Linked DNA regions of Homo sapiens: region 2 is linked to region 1. Evidence: promoter capture Hi-C in human tissues and cell types (Jung and others, 2019). All regions are on one chromosome and are shown on one strand. Each heading gives the region's core, a stretch centred on a gene start or on the middle of the fragment in contact. The rest is flanking DNA. Distances are from core to core; before and after follow the strand shown. Region 1 holds the start of ARGFX (arginine-fifty homeobox). Region 2 overlaps CASR (calcium sensing receptor).

Region 1 (6,343 bases), core at 2,908-5,407:
CCCGCCTCGGCCTCCCAAAGTACTGGGATTACAGGCATGAGCCACCGTGCCCAGCCTGGGAGTATCTCTTGAAGCCAAGCCTAAGCAACATAGGGAAATCCCATCTCTACAAAATAATAATAATAATAATAATAATAATAATAATAATAATAATAGGTGTGGTGTCATGCATCTGTAGTCCCAGCTACTCAAGAGGCTTACTTGAGGATTACTTGAGCACTGGAGTTTGAGGCTGCAGTGAGCTATGATCACACCAGCAGTGTCTTCAGGGGAGACCTGTCTCATAAAAAAAAAAAAAAGGAGTGAGATACTGCTGAAAAGAATAAGATAGAGATTTTGAGACAGATATTGGGTTAAATTGTGAGGTTTCTCTGTAGCTACTGTGTTAGCTCTTTCTGCAACATCTGTCAATTATTGTCCCATTTCTTGGATCAATCCTTTAATGCCTAAATCTTTTTTTTTTTTTTTTTTTTTTTTTGAGACAGAGTCTCACTTTGTCACCAGGCTGGAGTGCAGTGGCACAATCTCGGCTCACTGCAACCTCCGCCTCCCAGGTTCAAGCGATTCCCCTGCCTCAGCCTCCCGAGTAGCTGGGACTATAGGCGCCCACCACCACGCCCGGCTAATTTTTTGTATTTAGTAGAGACGGGGTTTCACCATGTTGGCCAGGATGGTGTCGATCTCCTGACCTCGTGATCTGCCCGCCTCAGCGTCCCAAAGTGCTGGGATTACAGGCGTGAGCCACCATGCCCGGCCAAAAATGACTAAATCTTTTAATGCCAAAAGATTTAGGCATTGCTGGGCGCGGTGGCTCATGCCTGTAATTCCCAGCACTTTGGGAGGCTGAGGGGGGCGGATCACCTGAGATCGGGAGTTCAAGACCAGCCTGGTCAACGTGGTAAACCCCATCTCTACTAAAAATACAAAAATTAGCCAGGCGTGGTGGCAGGCGCCTGTAGTCCCAGCTACTAGGGAGGCTGAGGCAGAAGAATCGCTTGAACCGGGAGGTTGCAGCGAGCCTAGATCACGCTATTGCACTCCAGCCTGGGCAACAAGAGTGAATCTTCTTTCTTTGGTAGGATGCAGATCAACAGCTTTCATGTTTTGTTTCTAGATCTGATACATTAGTCTAAGACTTGTGCCCTCTGGGCCAGCTGGCAGAGCAGCAGGAAGGATCAAGGGTCAGAGCCCCCTCCCTGGTCCAGAGAAGTGTAGGCTAGCAAGCTGATAGTACTACCAAAGTGGGAAGCAAGAGACAACTGTGTTATAGTCATAATTGGAGACCCCTTCCACTCTGCTTAGTCCCAGAATAGTGCTTGTTACCAGTAGGTGCTCAATTAATAAGTCATCAATGAATGAATAAATTTAAAAAACAAATAAACAGATGAATAAGTAAGACCAGTCATTTTGAGGGAGATGGTGGCAGGGCTGAGTGGGCACAGTACTACAGAAAAAACAAAATTTAACGTCAAGAAAAAGTATCAGCCACAGTGATAAAAGATACATATCAGACTCTGGCATTATGGCTAAACAAGCTGCAGCTCTGAAAGTTCAGGAGAGGCTGGGCATGGTGGCTCACGCCTGTAATTCCAACACTTTGGGAGGCCAAGATGGGAGGATCACTTGAGGTCAGGAGTTTGAGACCAGCCTGACCAATATGCTGAAACCCTGTCTCTACTAAAAATACTAAAATTAGCTGGGCACGGTGGCGGGCGCCTGTATGCCTCCCAGCTATTCGGGAGGCTGAGACACTCTGGACAAAGTGCACATCTTTTAAAAGCAACTAGAGGCCAGGCACAGTGGCTCATGCCTATAATCTCAGCACTTTAGGAGGCCGTGGCAGGCGGATCACGAGATCAGTAGTTTGAGGCCAGCCTGGCCAACATGGTAAAACCCCGTCTCTACTAAAAAAATACAAAAAATACATATATATATATATATATATACACACACACATATATATGTGTGTATATATATATGTATTTTTTGTATTTTGTGTATATATATATATACACACATATATATATATATATGTGTATATATATGTGTGTATATATATAGCTGGGACATGGTGGCTAGCGCCTGTAATCTCAGCTAGTCAGGAGGCTGAGGCAGGAGAATTGCTTGAACCTGGGAGGCAGAGGTTGCAGTGAGCCGAGATTGTGCCACTGCACTCCAGCCTGGGTGACAGAGCAAGACTCCATCTTAGAAAAATAAAATAAAATAAAATAAAAGCAACTAGAGAGTAGAGAACAATTACCTGCAAAGGAATAAAAGTTTGGATGTTAGCAGACTTCTCAAATAAATGGCTTCTGTACTCACCTAACCTATTATGCAAGAATGATAACGTAATAAAGATATTTTAGACAAAGAAAGTTTGAAAATGTTTACAGTTAAAAGAACTATTTTTGATTCTACATCAGAAAAAATAAAACTGTGCCCAAAAGAAAGAGGATGAAAGAAGCAATGATGATCAAAGTACTTGATAAACATATGGTTAAATCTAAATAAATATTTATGACAAAAATAATAATGACCACTTTTAGGAACATAAAAGCAAACTTAGGCTGGACGTAGTGATTCATGCCTGTAATCCCAGCATTTTGGGGGGCCAAGGCAGGAGGATCACTTGGGCCCAGGAGTTCTAGACCAGCCTGGGCAACCTAGCAACACCCCATCTTTACAAAAAAAAATTTTTTTTAATTAGCTGGGGGTGGTGGTGCATATCTGTAGTCCCAGCTACTGGGGAGGCTGAAGTGAGAGAATCATTCTAGCCCAGGAGGTCAAGGCTGCAGTGAGCCATGATGGCACCACTGCAGTCCAGCTTGGGTGACAGAGTGAATACCATCTCTAAACAAAGAATAAAGAAATAAAAATAATGTAACTTTAAATCTTGCATATAACTTACATACCATTTGAGAGGGGGAGAAAATAAAAGGCAACCATTCTAACAGAAGGCTGGAAAAGTTAAAAACACACAAAGATTGTAAGAAATTAGGTAGAAATAAGTAGTGATCCCCCCATTATCCATGGGGATACATTCCAGGATCCTCGGTTTCTTCCTATACGACTGCATTGTATAGGCCAGGTAGCTTATACAGCATGGATACACTGGACAAAGGGATGATTCACATCCTGGGCGGAGCAGTACAGCCAATTTAAAATTTGAGCATTTAAAAAAAAAGGGCTGGACACGGTGGCTTACGCCTGTAATCCCAGCACTCTGGGAGGCCAAGGCGGGCGGATCACTTGAGGTCAGAAGTTCAAGACAGCCTGATCAACATGGTGAAACCCCGTCTCTACTAAAAAAAATACAAAAACAGCTGGTGGGTTGCACATGCCTCTAATCGTAGCTACTTGGGAGGCTGAGGCAGGAGAATCGCTTGAACCGGGGAGGTGGATATTGCAGTGAGCCGAGATGATGCCATTGCACTCCAGCCTGGGCAACAAGAGTGAAACTCCGTCTCAAAAAGAAAAGAAAAGAAATGAAAACTAACACATTTTTTATTTATGGAAGTTTCCATTTAATATTTTTGGGTGGCAGTTGACTGAAACCACAGAAAGCAAAACTGTGGATAAGGTGGGATTACTGTGTTCTTATCCTATCAAACATAAATGGATTATTCCATAAGAAAATTCTTAGATCAGATCACTATTTTAAAGATACACTCCTAAAACTTTACTTTTATTTTTTTGAGATAGGGTCTTGCTGTCTCGCTCTGTTGCCCAGACTGGAGTAGACTGGTGCAATTAGGGCTCACTGCAGCCTCAACCTCCCAGGCCCAAGTGATCCTTCCACCTCAGCCTCCCGAATAACTCAGACCACAGGCGTGTGTTACCACGCCTAGAGGAATTTTACACCTAAAACTTTGAACAACGCAAGTGTAAAAGTAAAAAGGTGGTTGCATCAAAAAGCACAGGAGTCGCCTTGAAGGGTTGTCAAAGGTAGGAAGTTTGAGTATAAAAAAAGAATAATTACTATTTTCAGCAACAGTTACACTATGCTCTAAGCATACTTATATTGAATGAACAAATGAATGAATGAAGGGTGGGACATCAGGGTGTGTCTGGGTGGTGCAGGGGCAGGAGGAGGTCTGATTGTATAAAAATTACATTTAAATACAGGGTCTTCTGCATGAGGACACACTAAGGAAACTGCATTTCCAGAGAGAGACACACCACGTAGGACTGAAAATGGTTACTCTAAGGGGATTCGTGACAGGTAAGCATGGGGGAGCGGGGAGGGTAGCCAGAATGTGGGGCTTTAAGTGCTCAAAGAGGATTTGAAAAATCAAAGGAGCAATATTAAAGGATGCAAACCACTCAGCCCATTCACATTAGAGGGACATGATATAGATGGTTGGGGACAGAAGGAAGGTCAGAAAGACTGACTGTTCACCTCATGAAAATCAGGGAGTGAATGTGAGACTCCTTACTTACTGAGTGTGGTTGTCAGTTCTGCAGGGCTCCCAAACTTTCTCCATCTGTGTTAGCCAGGCCTTTGGAAATCCTTAATTAGAATGTAAACTCCATCATAGCAACTATTTTTGTGTACTTCGTTCATTGCAGAATCCACAGACCTATGTAAGTGCCCATTTGTAGGAAGAAGGCAATAAAAAATTGCTGAGTAAATGTGGTTCTGCTAGTGGCAATTCTGCCTTATGCTCTTGATAGCCTCGATCAGGGAAAGCACTGTAGACCAGTTGAATCGTTTGCTTCTTTGTTTCTTTAATATGCTAGTTTAAGCTACAGACTCTCAATGCCCATCCCAGGAAAGTGGGCCAGGGTTTAGACTGTGTGTACAAGAGTCAGTAAGACCTGATTCATTCCCAGCTATGCTTCTTCTCTACCTGGCCAAACTTTTAGATCTCATGTCTCTTCATCTTTAAGAGGTTGATAATAATTGTCCATTACCCCATGTGTTTGTCGAGGATCACATGAATCATGTATATGAAGCACTTGGATGTCTGACGGTATCCTAATGTTGCTACTGAATGTTACTGCATCATTTATTTACTCTTAGGATTGTACTGAAGAACAGATGCTTAGTGAAGTTTAATTTCTTTTCAATTAAATGCTAAGCCTTAGGCCATCTGTTGTTATTGCTGTTCCAATTTTTTGGTCTCAGAACCTCTTTATATTCTTAAAAATTGTTAAGGACTCCAAAGAACTTTTGTTTCTATAGGATATACCTAGATATTTACCATATTCAAAGTGAAAACTGAGATTAAAATATATTTATTCATTCCTTTCAAAATAAAATGATAAATGCGTGACGTGTTAACTATATTTTCCACACACAAAAAAAAATTGTGAGACCAATGGCATTGTTTTACATTTTAGTACTTTAGGGCTTAATGGAAGATGGCAGAATTCTCTCCTGCTTTTGCAGTCACCTTTTCTGATGCATTACTCTATTGAAGTGTAAGAAGAAAATCTGACCTCATACAGATATGATGCTAGAAAAAGGAGTATTCTTGTAGCCTTTGAAATAATTGTGGATATTCTTTGAAATTACAACACAAACTCAACAAGTAGCAGTTTCTTAAAGATGAGTTGCAATGTGAAAACTTTTTTTTTTTTTTTTTTTTTGAGACGGAGTCTTGCTCTGTCGCCCAGGCTGGAGTGCAGTGACATGATCTCAGCTCACTGCAACCTCTGCCTCCTGGGTTCAAGCGATTCTTCTGCCTCAGCCTCCCTAGTAGCTGGGACTACAGGTGCGTGCCACCACGCCCAGCTAATTTTCGTATTCTTAGTAGAGATGGGGCTTTACCATGTTGGTCAGGCTGGTCTCAAACTCCTGACCTCAAGTAATTCACCCTCCTCGGCCTTTCAAAGTGCTGAGATTACAGGCGTGAGCCACCATGCCCGTCCTGCAATGTGAAATTTGAAATCATATGAATGAACTTTCCAAATTCTGTGACATTAAAATCCATTGGTCTACATTGAACTTTGAGTGGATCTTTTACCCATGCAGGATTTTGTAACATTACATACTGGTCATTTGCAAAATATTGGTTTATGAATTAAGAAGCTCTTCTAAATTTATTCCCCTGTACATTTGTTATAGAATAAGAGTGAAAAAGTAAAATAACATGCAAGATGTCACCATTGAGGGAGGCTAGCTGAAGTGTGTGCAGCACCTTAACCATATATATTATTTTGCAATTTCTTGTGAATCTGAAATTAGTTCAAAATTAAAAGTAAACAAAACAAAACCAGTAAACAACATGGTAATTTTTGCTTTCAATCTTCATATATATTCCAAATAGCTTTTAAACATTTAAGACCTATTATATGTAAGCAGATATTTACCATATGTGTGGCTTTTCCTTTATTCTTG
Region 2 (6,289 bases), core at 457-2,956, 700 kb after region 1:
TAGTTTTTGGCACAGCATCTTTGCATAGGCCATAGCCCACACCAGAAGGGCCATCAATTTTTATCTCTGCTGTCATTTTCCACCAGGAACATTTAAATTGTTTTCAAAATCCACTTTCCCCTGGAAGTCTTTTCAAATCGTATTCCCACAACACATTTTCTGATCATTCTCGCTTCCTCATTTTTGATGTTTATATACCCAGCTTAAGCTTCCACAGCTCTTTAATTGACTGAAATAGACACTTATTAGTTAAAATTCTGGTTATAAGGGTCAATCACAATTTTTTTCCTTTCTTTCTCCCCAAAAAAATATTTATCAGTCAACTCATATGCCTCAAAAGTAGCACTAGCAGGTGATTTATGAGCATACAACTCACAATTGCCTCCTGACCTCTTCTTGGAGACCCCCAAGCCCTCCTCACATCCCTTCCCAGCTCTCTCTTCACTACTCCTTTGCTGTACTCTAAGCTTCATAAGATCCAGAACCATGCCTGTATTGTTCAGTACTATGTTCAGAATGCCTGTCGCTGGAATATTCATTGAATGAATGAATGAGTGAATAGCAGTCTAGTTGATTTGACCTGTCAACACTACCTATAGGCCTTTGCAGGGAACCGTTTGAGCCAACAACCCATTCTTGAATCAATCACTGTGGCCAAGGTATTCTAGGCTCTGTTTGGACAAGCTTTGGTCACGTGCCCACTATCAAGTTTGAGTGGAACATCATGTAAGTATGAAATCACCTTCTTTCTTCTCTCAGGATGATCATGCACAAGGTGTGCTTCCTACTCTCCTGCACCTCACACCAACACTCACTAGTCAGAAAACAGGCGTGCAGCCATGGTGAAGATGGAAGTCAGATGGAGCTGATCTTTCTAGGAATTCCTGGTACTGCTGGAAGTTGGGGAATGGGGGATAAATTGTGAGGACAGCCAGAGAAGATGGAAGGGAGATAAGAAAACATGGCTGGCGTTAGAGAAGGGAATTGGGCCTGGATCTTCCCCATGCTCTTACCACAGGAACTGGGCAAGATAATGAACTTCATTATCTTGTTCATTATCTGTGTGACCTGGCCCTCATTATCTGTATAAGAGCTGGAAGTCCTAGACCAGAGTGGGGGGGTTTCTAGTCTCTAATGTTCAGTTTAATTCAATTGACGCTACTAAGAATGTGTGCCAAGAGGTGATTTCCATTTATGCTTATAATGAGCAACCGTTTGACTTTAAAATCTTTTAGGGGAAATACCCTAAAAGACCACAAGATGGGAATATTATGGCATAAAAGAGTATGTTAGCTTCTAAGTGCATGCATGTCCTGTATTTGCCCCTCTTTTAGATCTATGTGTCTTTCTTGGTGGTGTTTTCTTTGTGAGCCTGTAAGTCTCTTTGTGTCTGTATGTTATGTTCTATGTTCAGATCTTTTTGTTTGTTTGTGTTTTGTTTTTTTGAGGCAGAGTCTTGCTCTGTCACCCAGGCTGGAATGCAGCGGCCCGATCTTGGCTCACTGCAAACTCCGCCTCCCAGGTTCAAGCAGTACTCCTATGTTTGGATCTTTCTACTAGCTTTTTTTGTTTCTCTTCCCCTTCGTTTATTCTTTTTCCTCATATTACTCCCCAAATAAAATAAATAATTTGGAAGCATATAATATTGGATAATAATCTCAAGTAAAATTTTATATTTCATTTTAAAAGGAACTGTCAGTTCCTTTTTAAAAGCAAAAGAAGCCAGGGGCAGTGGCTCACACCTATAGTCTCAACACTTTGGGAGGCCACAGTGGGTGGATCATGAGGTCAGAAGTTCGAGACCAGCCTGGGTAACGTGGTGAAACCCTGTCTCTACTAAAAATACAAAAAATTAGCCGGGTGTGGTGGCAGGCACCTGTAGTCCCAGCTGCTCAGGAGGCTGAGGCAGGAGAATTGCTTGAACCTAGAAAGCATAAATTGCAGTGAGCCAAGATCGCACCACTGCACTCCAGCCTGGGCAACAGAGCGAGACTCCGTCTCAAAATAAATAAATAAATAATAAAAAGAGTGTTCTCTCTCGGGCAGATATCTAAATTATCTTCTAACTTATGTTGCTTTTTTTGTGGATCAATCATTATCAATTTAAAGATTCCCTGTCATTGCTCTTAGGAGTGAAATGGTTTTCATCTCCATCTTCCCTGTTATGTGAATTAAAGGCAAGATATTATGCAGAAAATAAAACGCCCAAATGCAAAACTTGCAAGTCAGCCTGCCAAAAGAAATATTAAAGATGTTTAAAGAGGTGACTTAGAGATATGACTTGGTAAGCATAATAATTTATTGATTATAAGTGGATAACGTACAAATTTTGAGTAGAAAATATTCCACACTCATGTGATTTTATTTATATACCTGCTGTGAGGACATAGTACAATACAATTCAGGTTAGGATTTGAAGTAAGGAAAAAAAAATATCATTTGAGACGAGTCTTGAAGGGTAGATAAAATTTGTGGATACGGAGAAGGATCTACTCCTTGGAGGAAAGGTCACAAAATGTCCTGCTAAGCAAAAGAATACTGACTAAAAAAAAATAGTACATAGTGTATGATTTCATTTATGCGATACTCTGTCTCTACTGACAGAAAGAAAGCAGATCAGTGGTGGCCTAAGGCTGCAAGTGGGTAGAGGTTGACTTTCAGGGACACCACAGAACCTTTTGGGAAGGTGGCAGTGGTAGTTACCAAGCATATACATTTGCCCAAATTCAGAACTATACACTTAAAATGAGTGTATATAAATTATACCTCAAAAAAGTTGATAAAAAAAATAACGGAAAGTCCCCAGGTGGGGAAGTCCTGGCTACTCATGGAGATCAGGATGTCATTCAGGTTAGACCATTTTCCCACTTATGGCCCCTCATGTTGCCACAAGCATTACACATCTCTACCATTTCATTTTTAAAATATGTCCATTTTCTCAACCTACATTTTATACCAGTTAACCTGTTGTAACTAGAGATAGGCAACTTAATAGATGTCTAATTTCACTCCTGCATGTGAGTAGGTAGTATAGTGTAATGGTTAACAGTTTGGAATCTCAAGCCAGACTGAGTTGGTTTAAATTTTAATTGCCACCTAATTGCCTTATGACCTTGGGCAGTCACTTAGTGTCCTTGTGCCTCACTTTTCTCTCTCACCTGAGAAATAGAGATCATGAAACTTGTTAAGTTTATTATGAGGATACCATTACTTAATATGCACAGAGTGCTTAGGATAGTGCCTATATACTATGTGCAGTAAATATTAGTCTTGAGTATTATTCTTTTGTAGGTGAGGAGGGTAAGACCCAGAGAAGTCAGAATGATTTTCCTAAAGTAATATATCTAGCTAGTAAAAAAGCTACATCTGCTCCAGGTGATCTGTTCCCCAAAGAGGCCAAAGGAGTTGCTAAAAGAATGACTTTTGCCCTCTGGGCACCACATGCCTTCTAGCTCCTGAGAGGCTGCCAGATCAGCCAGTGGTTTCCAAGTGAAGACACTGGTCCACTGCCTTGAACCCTGGGTGTTCAACAATTGTCCTGACACCTCGGTCCTTACACAAAGAGAAAGTATAGTGTGCAAATAATTGAGAGTGCACACAGCCAACCAGGTTGGAGTCTATTAGACATCTCTGTCCATCTTGAATATTACTGTATTTCTTCTTTCTAAAACAGTGCCTGCTTGGCCAGTAGTGGTCCCTCAATAAATACTTGTTGAATAAACAAATGAATAAAGAAAGAAAATGGGACAAAAATAACTCCTGAGAGGACAGTGGAGGACAGTAACACAGTACCTAGATACAGGCACAGATAAGGGAGGTCAGTGATCTCAGAGAAGTGGTCAGAAAACTCTCACACAAGAAACCACAGTAATGCTGACTTCATAAACTGGGGCTGGAACTTAGCTCTGCATTGTTAACAAAGTAAATTACATGAAGGAAAGCATGTTTTGGTAAGGATTTTAAGAGTATAAACAGGGTTATTGAGGCATAAAGATCCAGAAACCATTAAATTTTAAATTATTCTTGTATTTTTAACTGATGTAGGCCTCCTAAGAATCTTTATCAGGAACAATTTATTAGCCTAATTTGTACTAATAAATATGCCTAAAAGAAGAAAAGAAGCAACTTTAAAAAAATTATTTTGGCCTTTTTATTTGTTTGCTTGTTTTTGTTTATTTCAGTTTAGAATTTAGATCATATTTTCAATCTTACTCGGCCTGATTCAGCCCAATTGAACTGGTTAGAACTCCCAGTATAATCTTGTATAGATATAGTGAGGACAGACATTACTGTCTGCATCTGATCAGGGGGAAAGCATTCAGTCTTTTACCACTGAGTATGATGTTAACTTTCATAGATGCCCTTTATAGAGTTGAGAAAGTTCCCTTTTATTCCTATATTGCCGAGAGCTTTTATCAGGAATGGAGGTTGGATGTCATCAGTGCTTTTTCTGTATCTATTCAGAAAATCATGTGGTTTTTCTTTTGTAGTATGTTATTGTAGTTGACCATCAAACCAACCTTTCGTTCCTGGGATTAATCCTACTTGGTCATAATGTATATTCCTTTTTGTACATGTATTTGTGTGTTTGATTTACTAAAATTTGGTTAAGAAATTTTGCTTCTATGTTCATGAGGACTATTGGTCTAAAGTTTTATTTTCTTGTAATGTCTTTGTCTGGTTTTGGTGTCTGGGTAATGATGACCTCAGAATGAGTTTGGCAGTATTGACTTCTTTTTTGATGTTCTGTAAGACTTTTGTAGAATTGGTATTAATTCTTCCTTAAATCTTTGGCAGCACTCATCAGTGAAGCCACCTTTAGTTGGTTTTCTTTGTGGGATTGTTTTGTTTTGTTTTGAGATGGAGTCTTGCTCTGTCACCCAGGATGGAGTAAAGTGGCATGATCTTGGCTCACTGCAACCTCCGCCTCCCAGGTTCAAGAGATTCTTCTGCCTCAGCCTCCCGAGTAGCTGGGATTACAGGCATGCACCACCACCACCAGCTAATTTTTGTATGTTTAGTAGAGATGGGGTTTCACCATGTCGACCAGGCTCGTCTCTAACTCCTGGCCTCAAGTGATCCACCCACCTCGGCTTCCCAAAGTGCTGGGATTACAGGCATGAACCACTGTCCATGGCCTGTGGGAAAATTTTGAACTGAAAATTCAATTTATTTAATGGATAGAATGCTATTTAGGTATATATGAGTCAGCTTTGATAGTTTGTCTTTCAAAGACTTTGTCCACATCGTCTAATTTGCCAAATTTACTGGCATAAGTTTATTTATAATATTGTTTACAATGTTCTCAGACTATAATTATAATGTCTGCAGCATCTGTAGTGTTGTCACTTCTCGAATTTATCATATTGTAAATATGCATCTTCTCCCTTTTTTCTGATCAGTCTGGCTAGAGATCCATCAACTTTATTAATCTTCTCAAAGAATCAGCTTTTGGCTTTAGTGATTTTTCTCTATATTTTTGTTGTCTGTTTCATTTATTTCTATTCTGATCTTTGTCATCTCCTGTCTTCTGATTTATTTCAGTTTAATTTGCTCTTCTTTTTGTAGTTACTTATTTGGAAACTGAAGTCATTGATTTAAAAACCTTTCTTTTCTTATAATATAGACATTTACTGCTATAAATTTCACTATAAATATTTTATTAGCTGCATCCCTCAAATTTTGATATGCTGTGTTTTCATTTTAATTCAATTTAAAATACGTTCCAACTTTCCTTTTGATTTCTTCTTTGGCTCTCAGGTTTAGAAGTGTGTTATTTGGTTTCCAAGTTTCCAGTGATTTTTCCAAACATTTTTCTGTTATTTGTTTTTAATTTAATTCCATTGGAGTCAACATATTTTGTTTGATTTTAATATTTTTAAATTTATTGAAACTTGCTTTATAATCCAGAATATGGTTTATCTTTATAAATATTTTGTGTTCTTGAAAATAATGTATATTCTGTTGTTGGGATGACTGTTCTGTAAATATCAATTAGATCAAGTTGGTTGATAGTACTGTCCAAGTCTTTTAAGTCTTTTATATTTGTATTGATTTTCTGCCTACTTCTTTCAGCTAATACGAATGCCCTATTGACCTTATTTTTCTCATTTATCCTCAGACTGATAAAAACCTCATCATGGGCATGACTTGTCCACATAGTCATGCTGGACACCTACAGGTTTAATATCTATTCTATTAATTATGCACTCAAAAGACAAGGTTTGAGTATCCACTAAAATCTAGGCCCTCTACAAACCACTGGAGATACAGAAGGAAATAAGGCAGT

What was found. The method cuts DNA at HindIII sites, captures the fragments that hold promoters and counts their contacts. A contact is called where the count stands out against the background at its distance.
Region 2: a contact is called between a fragment that was not itself captured here and the fragment with the promoter of ARGFX in region 1, in 1 of the 25 tissues and cell types used here (lymphoblastoid cells).

The regions. Positions count from the first base shown.
Region 1 is chr3:121,563,792-121,570,134 of GRCh38, forward strand. ARGFX (arginine-fifty homeobox) reads left to right here and starts at 4,158. Exons shown (of 5, transcript NM_001012659.2): 1 at 4,158-4,222. The HindIII fragment of the contact is 19,771 bases long and covers 1-6,343 here.
Region 2 is chr3:122,265,003-122,271,291 of GRCh38, forward strand. The region is part of intron 4 of CASR (calcium sensing receptor); the gene reads left to right. Among named protein-coding and RNA genes, the nearest start is that of CSTA, 57 kb to the right of the region's middle. RefSeq lists a silencer at 85-186. The HindIII fragment of the contact is 7,327 bases long and covers 1-5,370 here.